Linked DNA regions of Homo sapiens: region 2 is linked to region 1. The links are contacts of gene promoters, found by promoter capture Hi-C in human tissues and cell types (Jung and others, 2019). All regions are on one chromosome and are shown on one strand. The core of a region is centred on a gene start or on the middle of the fragment in contact, and the rest is flanking DNA. Distances in the headings are between cores, read along the strand shown.

Evidence for each region. The method cuts DNA at HindIII sites, captures the fragments that hold promoters and counts their contacts. A contact is called where the count stands out against the background at its distance.
Region 2: a fragment that was not itself captured here is called in contact with the fragment with the promoter of CYP3A43 in region 1 in 1 of the 25 tissues and cell types used here (liver).

The regions. Positions count from the first base shown.
Region 1 is chr7:99,824,272-99,832,083 of GRCh38, reverse strand. CYP3A43 (cytochrome P450 family 3 subfamily A member 43) reads right to left here and starts at 4,071. Exons shown (of 13, transcript NM_057095.3): 1 at 3,898-4,071. The coding sequence starts at 3,968. The HindIII fragment of the contact is 7,263 bases long and covers 2,179-7,812 here.
Region 2 is chr7:99,787,033-99,794,844 of GRCh38, reverse strand. No RefSeq gene overlaps it. Among named protein-coding and RNA genes, the nearest start is that of CYP3A4, 6.8 kb to the right of the region's middle. RefSeq lists enhancers at 1-207, 208-1,837, 2,942-2,956, 2,839-4,637, 4,696-4,979, a cis regulatory region at 3,385-3,405 and a promoter at 1-7,812. The HindIII fragment of the contact is 3,979 bases long and covers 1,140-5,118 here.

The DNA of each region.
Region 1 (7,812 bases), core at 2,822-5,321:
ATTCCTGCACAGAGGAGCTCTGGAAGAATCATAGTGTTCTTATTTCTATGGAATGACAACCATATTCAAGGCTTCCACTGGCTTCATAGAAATGTGAGCACCTTCCAGCTACACCCAAATCTCTGTGGTCAGATGATTTGATTGATATAAACTACAGTAAATGTGATTGACCTATATGTTCTCTGAATGGCACTATGCAGAGGAACCAATGACTAAAGAATAAATTTCAAGGCCATTCCTCCTCTTGTGCAATCTGGCCCTCCAACTGGTGATCCTTACTTGATAAGCACAATGCCAGTCATGCTCACTTTTTTTTTTTCTCAAAATGATCAGTCACACAGAGTCAGTTTACTGCTTCTGTACATCAACTATCCTGCAGGAAAACCCATTAAGTCTGGTGCTCCTTATGGCAGGCCTGCCTGCAACTCATCTTTGATGGGTTATGTGTGAACTCCATCAATTGCAGGTTCTGGATCCTTGCAGAACTTCCCACTCTGGTGTTACTGAGGGATGGAAGACTGGAGGAAAAAGAGAGGCTGCATCCCGCCGATGTAACCATGCAACTGCTGGTGCCACAAAGTAGGCCCTATAAGGGTAAGTTAGGAAAGTGTGGCTGAAAATTATGGTATGCATAAATAGTTTTAAATGCCCCTTATGTGCTTTCAGCTGAAAGAGAGGTCTTCCAAAATTCAGGAACATTTCTGTTGATAGAAAAGTTTCACTGTGCTACATAGCATAAGTAACCATAAAATATTCCAGACAGTTGAATTAGAAACTTGATTTCTCTTCTTTATAGGTTAGCTTTTCTTAGATCCTAAATATTCAGTACAAATAAATAAATCTTATAAAATGTGATAAAGCTGAAAAATTGCATGAAGAGAATGTGTTTGAAGGACCCCACAGTGGCACCCTGGCCAGGCCCAGCTGTTAGCTTGGTTCCCTCTTTGGGGATCTTTTCCTACTCACACATCGAAAATAACCTCTTGGGTTTCCAGTTGTTTATAATCCATTATCTGCCCATGCTAAATTCTGGTTGTTAGTCTAGGTAGATCAAAACTCATAGTCAATCAGAAAGCATCCCCAGGATTGAATGATGTCAGTAAACACTCTTAGTAACAGAAATTGGAAGTTGAATGAAGAGGAGGTGGATAATGTTTATTTACTTCTTCAACGGATCTGTGTAACATCTGTAGGGTCAAGAGAACATTCCTCTATGGAGGTTTGATATTTGAGTCTGAGAAATGAACTAACAGTAGATCAATTAATAGGAGATAATCCTTATAAATTTATCTCATGAATATGCATGGGAGCCTTGAAAGATATGATACTCAAAGAATGGCCTGATGATTGAAGCTTAAATAGCATTCTGAGCTATAAAAATGTAGTATCTTCTGATGGGGAGTGGGTGACACAAGACATGAGAGAGTGAGGGAAGAAAAAGCATGATAAACAAAAGTCATCTTATTATAATGTCTGTCAGGCATCAGTGCTCCAAAGAACAAGTATTATCAACCTTAGTCTCCCTTTCTGTGAGCTAATATTATTTTTTTCTTTTTTTTTTCTTTTAGACTAAGTTTTGCTCTTGTTGTTCAGGCTAGAGTGCAATGGCGCAATCTTGGCTCACTGCAACCTCTGCCTCCAGGGTTCAGGCGATTCTCCTGCCTCAGCCTCCCGAGTAGCTGGGATTGCAGGCACCTGCCACCACACCCAGCTAATTTTTGTATATTTAGTAGAGACAGGGTTTCATCATGTTGACCAGGCTGGTCTTGAACTTCTGACCTCACGTGATCCACCCACCTCGGCTTTCCAAAGTGCTGGAATTACAGGTATGAGCCACCATGCCTGGCCCTGCTAAGATTCTTTTTCATGAGATTATAGGGAGGGGGCTCAAGACCATTGCTTTTTTTTAGGAGGATCTTCCTTTAGGTATGAGAACTTCAGAGAAAGCCCCTTCCTATATTTTGGGAGAAATAGCAGGGTTGGGAGACAGGAGAACATAAGAGTTAGCTTGGTTCTGAAGACTTTCTGAGACCTTTCAATTTCCTTTGGTTCAAAGTCCTCAACATGCTTAAGTGCCATATTTTGGGGTTTCATTTTTGGAGCCCCAACTTTCCCCTGTCATAAACTTCCCTAGAAAATGTACATACTAAAGCTGAGTTGATGCTTGTGGAGAGGACAATTGAATTGGTAGCTGAGTCGCAAGGAATCACATTAAACCAGTATAAACCAGTCTCACATTCCTAGCAATGTCAATCCAGTTAAACAGCTGTGCCTCATTTCAGGAGGTGATGTTGCAGGTCTGCTGTCATGAAAGATAGGTCTGTATATGGTGCAGTTAAACAGGTACTTAATAAGAGGTCATTCTACCAAAGCAAAAGGAGACCAAAAGTTAATCATTTAGCAGACTAGTTTCTGAGTTCACAGGGCAGCCAGACAAAAAGATTTCTACATGTTGGTTTTGAAACAGCTCCAGTTGGAGTAGAGGTAGGCAATGGTGATCTGACAGATTTTTTTTCTCTCCTATAGCTCCTTAGGGCCAGATCTGAAAGACTTTAAGTTGTTGCAATTTCTCTGGAGTCTGCTCTATCACAAAGAATTCTGCAAAAATCACATTTCCTGCCTTTGTGGACCAAACCAATGTATTTCTTAAATGTATTTGATATCTCATGCCTCCCTAAAAGAATAAAACCAAGCTGCACCCTGACCACCTTGGGTACATGTTCTTAAGACCTCCTGAAGGCTGTGTCATGGGCCATGGTCACTCATATTTGGCCCAGAATAAATCTCTTCAAGTATTGTACAGAGTTTGGCTCTTTTTGTTGGCAGCATGTATTAACTCATTCTCTATTACAATTCCCCTGTCTTGATGAATGGGCTCTGTTGAGGCAGGGGGCAAGGTGAATCTCTTGGGTGGTTACAGTGAAAATCCATACAAAATTTTACATGCATATGTGCTGGAGGCCCACAATATATGAGACTAAAATAAGGACTGAATGAGTAAAGCTTAAATAGCATTGTAAGCTAAAAAGTAGGGAGTGGCTTCTGATAGGGAGTTTCTGACACAAGTTATGGGAAGGTGAAGGGAGAAAACACATGATGAACAAAGGTTATTTTATTGTGGAGATAAAGTCTCTCAGGTAGCAGTGCTCCAAAGAATAAGTATTATCAAACTTTTTCTCTTTTCCTGTGAATTAGTTTTCTGATTGATGAGATTATTTGGAGAGGCTCAAGACAATTGCATTCTTTTTGGAAGATCTTCCCTTAGTCAGATAAGAGAACTTCAGAGCAACCCTGCACTTCAGGAGGGAAAGAATGGGGGATGGGTAGACAGAAGAGGGTCAGAGATTCTGAAGACATTTGTGAAGTCTTTCAGTCTTCTTTAGTTCAAACTACTCAGTATGACAAAGTTTTATTTTTTTTTTTGAGACGGAGTCTTGCTCTGTCACCCAGGCTGGAATGCAGTGGTGCAATCTCCGCTCACTGAAACCTCTGCCTCCTGGGTTCAAGCGATTCTCCTGCCTCAGCCTCCCAAGTAGCTGGGATTACAGGTGTGTGCCACCATGCCTGACTAATTTTTGTATTTTTAGTAGAGAAGGGGTTTCACCATGTTGGTCTGGCTGGTCTTGAACTCCTGACCTTGTGATTGGCCTGCCTCCACCTCCCAAGTGCTGAGATTACAGGTGTGAGCCACCGCACCCAGACTAAATTTTACATTTTCAAATGTTGTATTAGGAGTCCTAACATATTAATAATATTTTATGTGTTCACAGTATTTGGCACTTAGGTAACTTCCCCTCCGTTATCTCTTTTATCTTCAAAACAAATAAGAAAAAGATGGGCCCAATTAGCACTTCAGGTCTTAGAGTTAAGAGCAAACATGCCTGCATAGTTACTCACATATAGAGGAGTACCAGGCTGGTAGCCACAAGAACCCATGTTTCCATGGCAAAGTTTGGAATGAGATCCATCACCAGTTTTCTTTTTCAGCTCTGTCTTCTGAGTTTTTCTTTCAGCTGTGTGCTGCTCTTTGCTGGGCTGTGCATATAGAGCTTTGTTTCTCTGCCCAGAGGTGATTTAGTTAATGTTAACAGCGATATTTATGTGCTGGAGAAGGAGGTGGGTCTACAGCGGCAGCCAGTAGAAAAGCCACTTATGCTACTCCTCATATGGAGGGATTTGGGTACCCTTTTCAAATTGACAATTGGCAAATAATTATGGCTGTCCTTATTTTGGCCTCCTTTGATTTCCTATTCTGTGAACAATCAGTAAACAAATCAGTCACTGCTATTGGTAAGCCCAAAGGTTATAGATTCTCAGGAACCTAAAGAAAAATACTTCTGCAAGAACATCTGCCCAGCAACTGCCTGTCCAACCTCAAACTGATGTCAGTCTTGTTATTGATCTTTATAGCCAAGGATAATCATTCCAAAACAAATATGTAATCCTTCTCATTATTTTTTTAAACTTTGTCTTACTTTACCTACCTGAATAAGCACATAGTTTACCTTGGCACGCATATTCCCATTGCAATGCTTTATTCCCAAATAAAAATAATTCTTTTTAGAAAGCCTATCTCTGTTTGTTATCTAGGTTGCCAAATCATGCCTCCAGGTAAACAGACAAGAAGGACTCCCTGTGCCTCAAAAGCAAAAACAAACCCAAGAGGCCATGGCAGGTTTAGGTGATGGTCATGTTCTCTGTGTTCTTAGTAAGTGTTGCAAAACCTATTTTTCTGTAGCCAAGTCAAATAACATTTTCTGAAAAAATCTGTACCTGGGAATTTTCCAACTGCTCACCAACAGATCATGTGGTAAGAACTAACTGACCACCTAGGAACAGCCAATTAAGAGACATGTGACTTGGGGCTTAAAGGCTGTCTAATCAAGACTCTTTTCTTCACTCCTCTGACTCCTCTATCCTGCTCTGTGGTTTTTGACTTTATAGCTCTCCACCTCCGAGGCTGCATCTCCTCAATCTGCAGACTGTGTTTTATAGAAAATGAAGCTCTCCCTCTGTCCTCCACAGATCCCACAATCTTTACTCATATTTCCTGGTGATGAGGAAGGGATCAAAATTGGCTCTCAAGATCCTCTCCCTTGTCATCTGGACTAATCAATGCATTGGCACCAGCAAGAGTCCTCTAAGCTCAGTTATCTTCCTGGCCTGGCTGTTTTGTGGAAAAATCAGTAAATCCTCTTACATCCAAGATCTCACATTTAGGATGAGGTCTTGAGGTCTTTATTTTTTTCAGGGAACCTGCCCTTCTGGCTCTATGGCTACCCACTTGTGGGGTATGCTTGCACTTGGAGGGGCATGCCCATGTTTCTTGGGGTGCATTCATGCTGCATCAAGCAAGTTCATGCCTCACAGGATACTCCATGCTTCAGTGTTGCAAGGACTATCGCATTTTATTTGCCCTTGAAGGGACCCCTTCCTAAGGTGAGGGCTATGCATAACCTAGGTCCTAAGGCCATGGTCTCTAAGGCCTGCCATCGGGTAATTCGGTGGCTCTGTCTCTGATCAATCACTATCAGGTACTCTGGCAGTTTTTCAAGTTTAAAATTTAAAGGTAAAGGCTCGACAGAAATGGATGTGAGAGATACACCTAAATTGAACTCCGAAGCATGCAATGAGGATAAGAGGAGTCTGGACTTCTCAAAGACAGTAAGAGGCTTTCTTTCAATCTGCATTTTTGAAAGTTTCAAACACAATTGGGACTTTGGCTGTGTTTTACTAGGAGACTAACCTGAAGAGTTAACCCATGTCTCAGAAAATCTGAAAAACTTGAAGACCCTAAAATGGAGAGTCCCATATCTTCCTGCTGCTGCACTTGCATTCTACCTCCACTTTTCCCTTTTTACCATCACTGTCTTTGTCTGGAACATTGCAGGGACCTGGCAACTTGGTACCAGCAGGGGCCATTGAGCCCCTGGCTCCTTCATGATGATTGAAAACTGGGTGGGTCTCTCATGAGTTTTGGACTTCCCACTTGATTGACAGCTGTCAGTTTTGTTCAGCTAGTTGTTCTTACCCCTGGATAAAAGGGGGTGAAAGAAAGTCTCTTTCTTTGAGACTTACTGTTTCTCAAGAAGGGGGAATCACTCTGTATTTCTCCTCCATAAACATATGAATGAATATGTATGCTATTTCTCCCATTAATCTCCTTTGTGGGTGATTTTTTTTGTTGTTAACAAACCTTCAGAGGAGAAAGGACAAACATTTTTCTTGGCCTCAGCAGTTCTGTCCCTATGAGCAGGATACCAAAGCCACTCTGTTCTTTCAGAAGCCTCAGTGAAGGGAGCCCAAGCACTTGTAAGTCAGCAGAAAAGTAAGAATTTCTTTTTTTTTCTTTTTCTTTTTTTGACAGAGTCTCATTTTATTACCCAGGCTGGAATGTAGTGGTGTGATCTTGGCTCACTGCAATCTCCGCCTCCTGGGCTCAAGTGATCCTTCTATCTCAGTCTCCCAAGTAGCTGGGACTACAGGCACATGCCTCCATGTCTGGCTGAGAAAAGTAAGAATTTCTTTCCAGACAAGCTCCTGGCCTTTCTTTCTGGGAGATCCACTTGGGCAGATGTTAAGAATTGCTCTTTGTCTCCTCTGCAAAATCTTAATAAATAGGAGAAAAGGATTTGTGTTACTAGTGCTGGGTGCAGCAACTCTAGGGTACTCTCTAGTACTTTCTCTTATGAATACTCACATCGTTTGATCCCCTTTTCCTCTAGAAATAGTCTTTTCCTTTGTTCCTGTATTTCTGTGCTGTTCTGTCATAAAAGGGGCTACAGGAGTGTAGAACATGGGCCTGAAACCCCTATAAGCCCACTTGTTGGAGCTGGCTCTGCGGACTGAGCAGCTGGTGCTTCTGAAGAACACACCTGTTGTTCTACACATGTCCAGCTCTCGGGGGAGTTTCTCTTAAGAAGCCCCATCCCTATGGGTCTTTTGCTTCCCTAACCCTTGTGACTTGGTTAGTCCTGGGAAAGTCCAATCCCCGGAGAACCTACCCAGTGTCACATATCAACAGGCCTGAACTTACTGGTTTTGGTGTCACTCAAAAGGGTACCTTCAGTTTTAAAAAATCAAAGCCTAAAATGTTTATAAAGGATAGATCCTCAGGTAAAATAGACTGACTTCTTTTTCAGAATTATTCATAGTACAGCCAAACATTAAAATGCTTTCTTTGGCTAGGTAAGGAGGCTCACGCCTGTAATCCCAGCACTTTGGGAGGCTGAGGCAGGTGACTCACTTGAGGCCGGGAGTTCAATATCAGCCTGGCCAACATGATGAAACCCCATGTCTATTAAAAATACAAACATTAGCTGGGCATGGTAGCGCATGCCTGTAATACCAGCTACTGGGGTGGCTGAGGTGATCCAGAGGATCACCTGAGCCCGAGAGGCAGAGGTTGCAGTGAGCTGACATCACACCACTGCACTCCAGCCTGGGAGACAGAGATAGACTGTTTCAAAAAAGAGGGAAAAAAAGCTTTCATCACTCTATTTAAGAGCTCCATCCTGAATTCAGTAATCTAATCAAGAAATTTCCATAAAAAGATAAGAAAATTATGGAGAAGACATCACAATAATGTTATAGGATCCTTGAGGTGTTGCTTTTATGGCCTAAAACCTCTGGCCAGTGGCACCTTTGCCCAAGTTTTGCTCGGACTTGCTGGGCTTCTTCCACCCACTTGGGTTGGCAAGCTGCACACAGTCCACACTACCAGCCTGGATCCCATGCCTGCCAAGGGTGAGTTAGGAATGGAGCCATGAGGGGTGTGTGAATGAATGTGGGGTCAGGCCACTGCACAGTCAG
Region 2 (7,812 bases), core at 1,880-4,379, 36 kb after region 1:
CCGTTCTCTCTAGTCAAAGCCAACACCAGCCAGACTTGCAGATCTAGGTCCCAAGCCCACTGCAGATCACAGGCCAGGGTCTGGTCTCCTCTGAGCTCCTTTGGGAGGGAAAGACAGAATTATTAACACCCATTTTGTAGATTAGGCAACTGAGGCTGAGGAAGTTTAAATAACTCAGACAGGGCCTGCACGTCAGTCATATTCCAAGGATCCCTACTCACTGTCTTCTCTCTACAGAACGAGATGTCTCTGGAGTCCATAGAAAGCCCAGGAGCCTGGCTGGGCACGGTGGCTCCTGCCTGTAATCCCAGCACTTTGGGAGGCCGAGGCAGGCAGATCACCTGAGCTCAGGAGTTCAAGACCAGCCTGGGCAACATGGCAAAACCCCATCTCTACTAAAAATACAAAAAATTAGCTGGGCGTGGTGGTGCATGCCTCTAATCCCAGCTACTTGGGAGGCTGAGGCACAAGAATTGCTTGAGCCCAGGAGGCAGCAGTTGCAGTGAGCCGAGATTGTGCCAGTGCACTCCAGCCTGGGCAACAGAGCAAGATTCCATTTCAAAAACAAAAACAAACACAAACAAACAAACAAAAATAGAAAGCCCAGGGACCACCTGCGTCAGGTTCCCAGCCACACCTTTTTCTTGTCCTCCTCTGTCTCTGGCATCTTCTCACAGGTTCCTAATTGTTTGTGGTTGCACAAATTCAAAATCCCAGAAAAATTACCACTTCACACCCACTCAGATGGCTATTTTTTTTTTGAAGGAAGATAACAAGTGTTGACAAGAACATGGAGAAATTGGAATTCTCACCCATTGCTGGTGAGAATGTAATACGGTGCTGCTGCTATGGAAAACAGCTTGGAGTTTCCTCAAAAAGTTCAACAGAATTTCAATGTGACCCAGCAATTCCCCTCTAAGTTATAGATCTGAGAGGATTAAAAACAGTTACTAAAATACACGGACTCACATATTTCTAACAGTCCAATTCACAAGGGCCAAAAGGTGCTAATAGCCCACATGTCCATCGATGGATGGATAAATAAATTGTGGTCTATCCATACAATGGAATATTATTCGGCCATAAATGGAATGAAGTACTGACGCATGCTACAGAATGGATGAACCGCAAAAAAAATGGATGAACACATGCTACAGAATGGATAGCCTCACTTTACTATGAAGTGAAGGCCAGAAACGAAAGTCCATATATTGCATCATACAAAATATCCAGAAGAGGGAAGCCCACAGAGACAGAATGTGCAATGGTGGATGCCAGGGTCTGGGGAGAGGGGAGAGTGGGGAGAAACTGCTCAACTGGTACAGGCTTTATTTTGGAATGATGGGAACATTTTGCAACTAGATAGAGGTAGTGATTGCAGAACACAGAATGTACTGAATTCCACTGATTTTTTTCACCTTAAAATGGTTAATTTTCAGTCCTGAGATTGGATAATCATAAAAAAATGGTTAATTTTATGTTATGTGAATTTCATCCCTATACATATTTTAAACCTCAGAAATATACACTAGCAGGCATGGAACAGGTCACTGTGGTGCCTGCCAAGCCCGGTGATGTTATCTGGGGTCCCCGGCCAGCCTTAAGCCTCTTGCTGACCGGTGGAGGGCAGAACCTTTGCCCTAAAAGTATAATATCCACATGCTGGCATGATTCCTGGCCAGATGGCTTCTTTATTAGCAGTAATTGAAACTGCCTCGATACAGACACTGTACCTTGCAACCAAAAAATGACTCAACAATGATAATAAGGGTTAAGCTGGGCCTTTCTCTCTTTGCCAGTTAAATTATATTTATTATAGCTTGACATGAAAAACAAAGCAACTCCAACAGGTATCACAAGGGCAAAGGACATGAACATTTTATCAAAGAAGAAATGCAGCTGTCAAAAATACAGAAATATTCAACCTTGTTCATAATAAAGTGGCTGGGCTCAGTGGTTCATGCCTGTAATCCCAGTGCTTTGCAAGGCTGAGACAGGAGGATCATTTGAAGCCAGAAGTTCAAGACCATCCTAGGCAAGTCAGTTCAATACCAGACTTCATGTCTACAAAACATCAAAAAATTAGCCAGGCATGGTGATGCATGCCTGTTGTCCCAGCTACTCAGGAGGCTGAGGCAGGAGAATTGCTTGAGCCTGGGAGGCTGCGGTGGCGGTGAGCCATGATTGTGCCATTGTACTCCAGCCTGGGCAATGCAGCAAGACTGTCTAAATAACAAAAATAATAGTAAAGAAAAGGATTGGGATGCCATTTCTTGCGTATTCAATACACAGAGTTAAAAGTAATTTCTACGTTTTCTATTTTTTTATTACTAAAAAAAGCTGGACCATTCTCACAGCCTGAAATGCTTCTCACTTTCCCTTCTTCTGTCCAAACACTTCTCTATGATAATGCAAACAGTCACTCCTTTAGGAAGACTTCACCCCAGGTAGTTCCAGATCCCCTTATCTCTGCCTTCCCAGAACTCCTGGTGTCTCTCCAGTTCCCTCCGTGTGGTGAAGTACCCTACCTAGGGTTTCAGTATGGCTCTGTCTGCAAAGGTCTTGTTCACACCTTCCCTTATGGTTCTGTTGCCCTGTGTTGTGTCATAGCACAGGGCACAGTGGAGAACCCATTCACACTGATAGAGAGGGCCCCATGGTCCTGGAGATAACCATGTAACCGATCAGAATAGGGCATTGAGGGCTGGGTGTCAGGCGTGGGCTGCACTTGGGTGGGCAGGTCCCCTGGAAAGTCACTGGGTTTGGCAAGCTTCCTAGTAACATGTCTCTCTGGGGTCCCCTTGGAACTTCATGCAAAAATGCTGGTTGCTGGTTTATTCTAGAGAGATGGTTCATTCCTTTCATTTGATTATCAAAGAAACTCATGTCCCAATTAAAGGTCATAAAGCCCAGTTTGTAAACTGAGATGATCTCAGCTGAATGAACTTGCTGACCCTCTGCTTTCCTCCAGCCTCTCGGTGCCCTTGAAATCATGTCGGTTCAAGCAGCCTCATGAGGCATTACAAAGTTTAATTATTTCAGTGATTATTAAACCTTGTCCTGTGTTGACCCCAGGTGAATCACAAGCTGAACTTCTGACAAGAACAAGCTATCATATTCTTTTCAATTACAGAAAAAAGTAAGTTAATTGATAGGATTTTTTTTGTTTAAAAAAAATGTTACTAGTTTTGAAAAGGTAATATGTGCACATGGTAAACACTAAGAAGGTATAAGAGCATAATGCTTTTATACTACTAAGAATAATGTTTTCTCTAAGTTTTTTTTGGTAGATGCTTTCATCAGATTAAGAAAATTCCCTGCTATTAGTTGTTGAAGGTTTTTATATCATAAATGAAAGTTGAATATTATTATCATATATTATTAATATATTGTTATTGAACTATCAAAGCCTTTTCCTAAAACCATTGAGATGATCTTATAACCATTCTCCTTTAACCTGTTGACGATATCATTGGTATTTATACTATTTCTCTGTTAACCATTCTTGAGTCTCAGGTTTAAATTCAACTTGGTCATGGTGTGTCATCTTTGATCATTGCTGTCTGTGGCTTGCTACTGTTTTGTTTAGGATTTTTGCACTGATGCTCATCAATGAGACTGGCATGCCATCTTCCTTTGCAGTCCTGATTTTTTTCTGATTTGGATCATGTGGTTATGGCCCTCATGGAATGAGTTGGGCATGATGCCTTTTTTTCATGTCTCTGGATTGATGGGACACTTTGGATTCTCTCCAGATGGCCCTCAATGGTCCCTGCCTCCTCATTGTTAGGCCCCTGGGCAAGCCCTTCTCATTTCTGGTAGGCCCAGGAACCTGTGGGGGTTTTGTTTGTTTGTTTGTTTCTTGAGTCGGAGTCTCACTCTGTCACCCAGGCTGGAGTTGGAGTGCAATGGCCCGATCTTGGCTCACTGCAACCTCCACCTCCCAGATTCAAGCAATTCTCCTGCCTCAGCCTCCTGAGTAGCTGGGATTACAGGCACCCACCGACACACCCTGCTAATTTTTGTATTTTTAGTACAGATGGGGTTTCACAATATTGGCCAAGCTGGTCTCGAACTCCTGATCTCATGATCTGCCCGGCTTGGCCTCCCAAAGTGTTGAGATTACAAGCATGAGCCACCACACCCAGTGAACCTGTGGTTTTTAGAAGCTCCCCATGCATGTGAATGCTGTGAGCATCCCAGGATGACAGCCACTGTGTGTTCAGCTGTTGGAACTGTGAGAAAGCACCAGTGGGACCCTCTCCAGCACCTGCCTGCTGAGGTCATGGAAGAGGCTTGTTGGGGAGATGATGCCCTGGCTGACTCCTGAAGGATGGTTAGGAATGCACCAGATGGAAGCTGGGTTGGACCCACTCTATGCTGAAGAACAGCTTGTGTGGACACAAGGAGACACGGATATGTCATTTTTGTAGAGCCTGAGGAGTGTCCAGTCACACCATTTGCTTAAAACATCATGCACACTTGGAAAAGTGGACTGAGACCGAATGAAGAAGCTAACAGTGGCCAGATCAGAAAGGGTCTTGTGTTACTTCCTAGAGATACTTAGATTTTATCCTGTGGGTGATAGGAGCAGTTGGAGGGACTGAAGACAAGGAAAGAAACATGTTTCAAGATCTATGTTTTTCAAGACGCTTTCTGGTGGCTGAGTAGGGAATTCCCTGGATAAGTCCTGCCCAGGGTCAGGCAAAACAAGTTAGGGGGTTACTGAAATAAGGAGTATGAGAAATGGTGTAGGTTGTGCTGACGTTTTGTAACACATCTCATGATGATCTTCATTTCCTTCACTAATTTCCTGTTTCATTAATTCCCTTCCACGTGCTCTTCTGAAATTTGCCTCACATTCTCTGATTTCTCTTTTACCTGTTGGTTTCATCACCTTTTACTTTTTGCTTTCCTGGAAACACAAATGATTCTGATTGTGACATGTCAGAATTATTTGCAACATTTGCCTTTCTGCTGAAACCATGAGTTCACTGAATACACAATTTAGTAAAGTGTAGGATGCACATGTCGTTTTCGTGGTCACAACCAGCTCTGTAGCATTTTATAACTACACTGGCAGTGTGCTGGGAGGTGTAGAGAGAAATATTTATCACATGTGTGGCTGACACAACCTGCCAAGTTATTTTAGGAGCCTCCTTGGAATCCCAGCAAGAATGCTACCGGCACAATTTGTAATCACAGCATCCTGCTCCATGCCTTGGCTTCATGGCATAGTCACTTCTGCAAGTCTCTTTCCAGCTGTCTGTTCCCATGTCTATAAAGTATGAGTTAAATCATCCTAACACTACTCATCTTACAAAGTTTTCTTGCTGATGTTAAGAGAGTTGGGAAAGAACTGTATAAACTGTGAAGTGCCATGGAGATGTTAGTGGTTACTTTATCAAGAAATAGACACTCTAGAATGGAGTAGAAAGCCAACAGTTATGATTGAGTCCTCCTCCTCTTCTTCTTTTTATTAATTTATAAAGAAAAGAGGTTTAATTGACTCACAGTTCCATATGGCTGGGGAGGCCTCGGGAAACTCTCAGTCATAGCAGGAGGCAAAGGGGAAGAAGGCACCTTCTTCACAAGGCGGCAGGAGAGAGAGAGCTCCTGTTCTTTTTTGTCATAAAGTCTACAGAAGTGCTTATACTTCAGGACAAGGGCAGGCAGAGAGAAGGAAGGACATTGCTTCACCCCAGCCCTCACTGACGAGTTTGCTAGGGGACCTCACTTTGTCCCAGAGTAGGGGCAGAACTCTGGCCACTACCCATTCAGAAGGCCTGGGCTGCACTGCTAGTTCCTCACTAACTCTGTGTGGCCTTGGGCAAGGTTGGGCCTGTGTTAACAGATTATGACCCTGGGCTCTCAAGCTAGAGGATCTAAATTTGAATCCTGGCTCTGCTAAAGCAATTAGTGATGTAAACTTTAATGGGTCAGTTAACCTTCCTGTGGCTTAGTTTGCTCATCTGTAAAATAGGGATCATAACAGTATCAATACCACATGATTGTTGGACAGATTGAATCAGTTAATGCAGGGGAAGTACTTAGCATGACACGTATTCACTATCATTTCCTGGAGTAAGAGCTGTGTGTGAGTGGGTGTGAGCATGTGTGAAACCTTTTCTCTGCAATCTCAGTTAAGAAACCAATCCAGAATTTAAAGTTCAGGGCCTAAATGGGTGGTTATCTTCTCCCAGTTCCATCCTATCCCACCTTTGCTCTTCCTCCCGCCCACAGGAGCTGTTGGTCCTTGATTGGGCTGGAAGACCTGGTGGACCCTAAGTGATCTATAAGAGGAGAATAGAGAACAGGGAATGTCTTCAAAAATCCTAGAGGGACACAGAGGCTGAGAGGCAGGCAGTCCTGCAGGGGTCTTCTGATTGGGACAAGGAGAACCTTGGTCTTCACAGGCCAATTCTGGTCAGTTTCCCCCATGGACAGATGAGGAAACAGGCCCAGGAATATCCAAGGTCTCACACTTCCCATCTGTCAAGTCTTGTTGATGCTGTTGTATTCATGTCTCTCAAAGGGAGATAGAGTTTAGGGAAGAAAGAAGGATCAACTGTGTCTGATACCACTGGGAGCTTAAGTAAAGGGTTCTTTTACTTCATAGCATTTATCCCAATTTGTAATTCAGTATTATTTGTGTGGCTGTTTGGTGTCTCTTTCTCCTATATGAGTGCTAGCTTCATAAGGGCAAGGATTTTGATTCTTTAATATTTAGTGCTTGCCACATGCCCTGAACACAGCAGGCATACAGGCTAACCAACATACAGTGGCATGAAAGTCATGAAAGTGAGACACCTACCTCCTCCAGTGCCAAGAGAGCATAACCATGCACCTGTCACTCTCCTCAACACCACCCCCAAGCATGAGGCCCAAAAGCATTAGCTAATCCCCTCCTCCAGCCACTAAAACTTAAAGGCCAGGTGTGGTGGCTCCCATCTGAAATCCCAGAACTTCAGGAGACAGCAGCAGGAGGATCACTTGAGGCCAGGAGTTTGAGATCAGCCTGGGCAACATAGCTAGGTCCCATCTGTACTAAAAATTAGCTGGGCGTTGTTGCATGCCTGTAGTCCCAGCTACTAAGGAGGCTGAGGTGGGAGGATCACTTGAGCCCAGGAGGTGGAAACAACAGTAAGCTATAATCACAGCACTGAACTCTAGCCTGGGCAACAGAGTGACACCCTGCCTCAAAACAATTTTAAAAATAAATAAGAGCAAAACTTAGATACCACGTGGTCACCCCAACATGCAAAATCAAGTTTTCCCCTACTGAGAAGAATGGGGACTTGACAGCTGAGTTACAGAGAGATAATCTTCTTCTTCTTTTTTTTTTTTGGTTTACATCCTCAAGATCATGACTTGTGAAATTTGAATCGAATACACATGTAATTCCAGAGCAATGTTGCCTCCGCATACCATCAGCAATTCACTTGGCTACTGGAAGTCAGGATAAGCTTCCCAGAAGAGAGGTACCACTTGGGCTACCAGTATAAAAGGATGAAAATATCAGAGTGATGGTGTTCTTTACAACGTTGAGTCCCTGGACAGCCTGTCCACTGATGCTGATATCTGAGCCTAATGCTTCTCTGAATGTTGAGATTGAACTTTGATCCAATGAAACTAGAACGAGAAAGAAGATAAGTCTTTCATTGTTGATAAGGACATTATGTTTCTCATACTTGTATGATTATTTTTCCTTAGCTGTACTATAATTATCTGCTTATTTGTCTCTGCTCTATGTGCTTAGGGTACAAAGTTGACCAAGACCAACTTTGGTTGGAAGCATAGTACTAAGAGCAC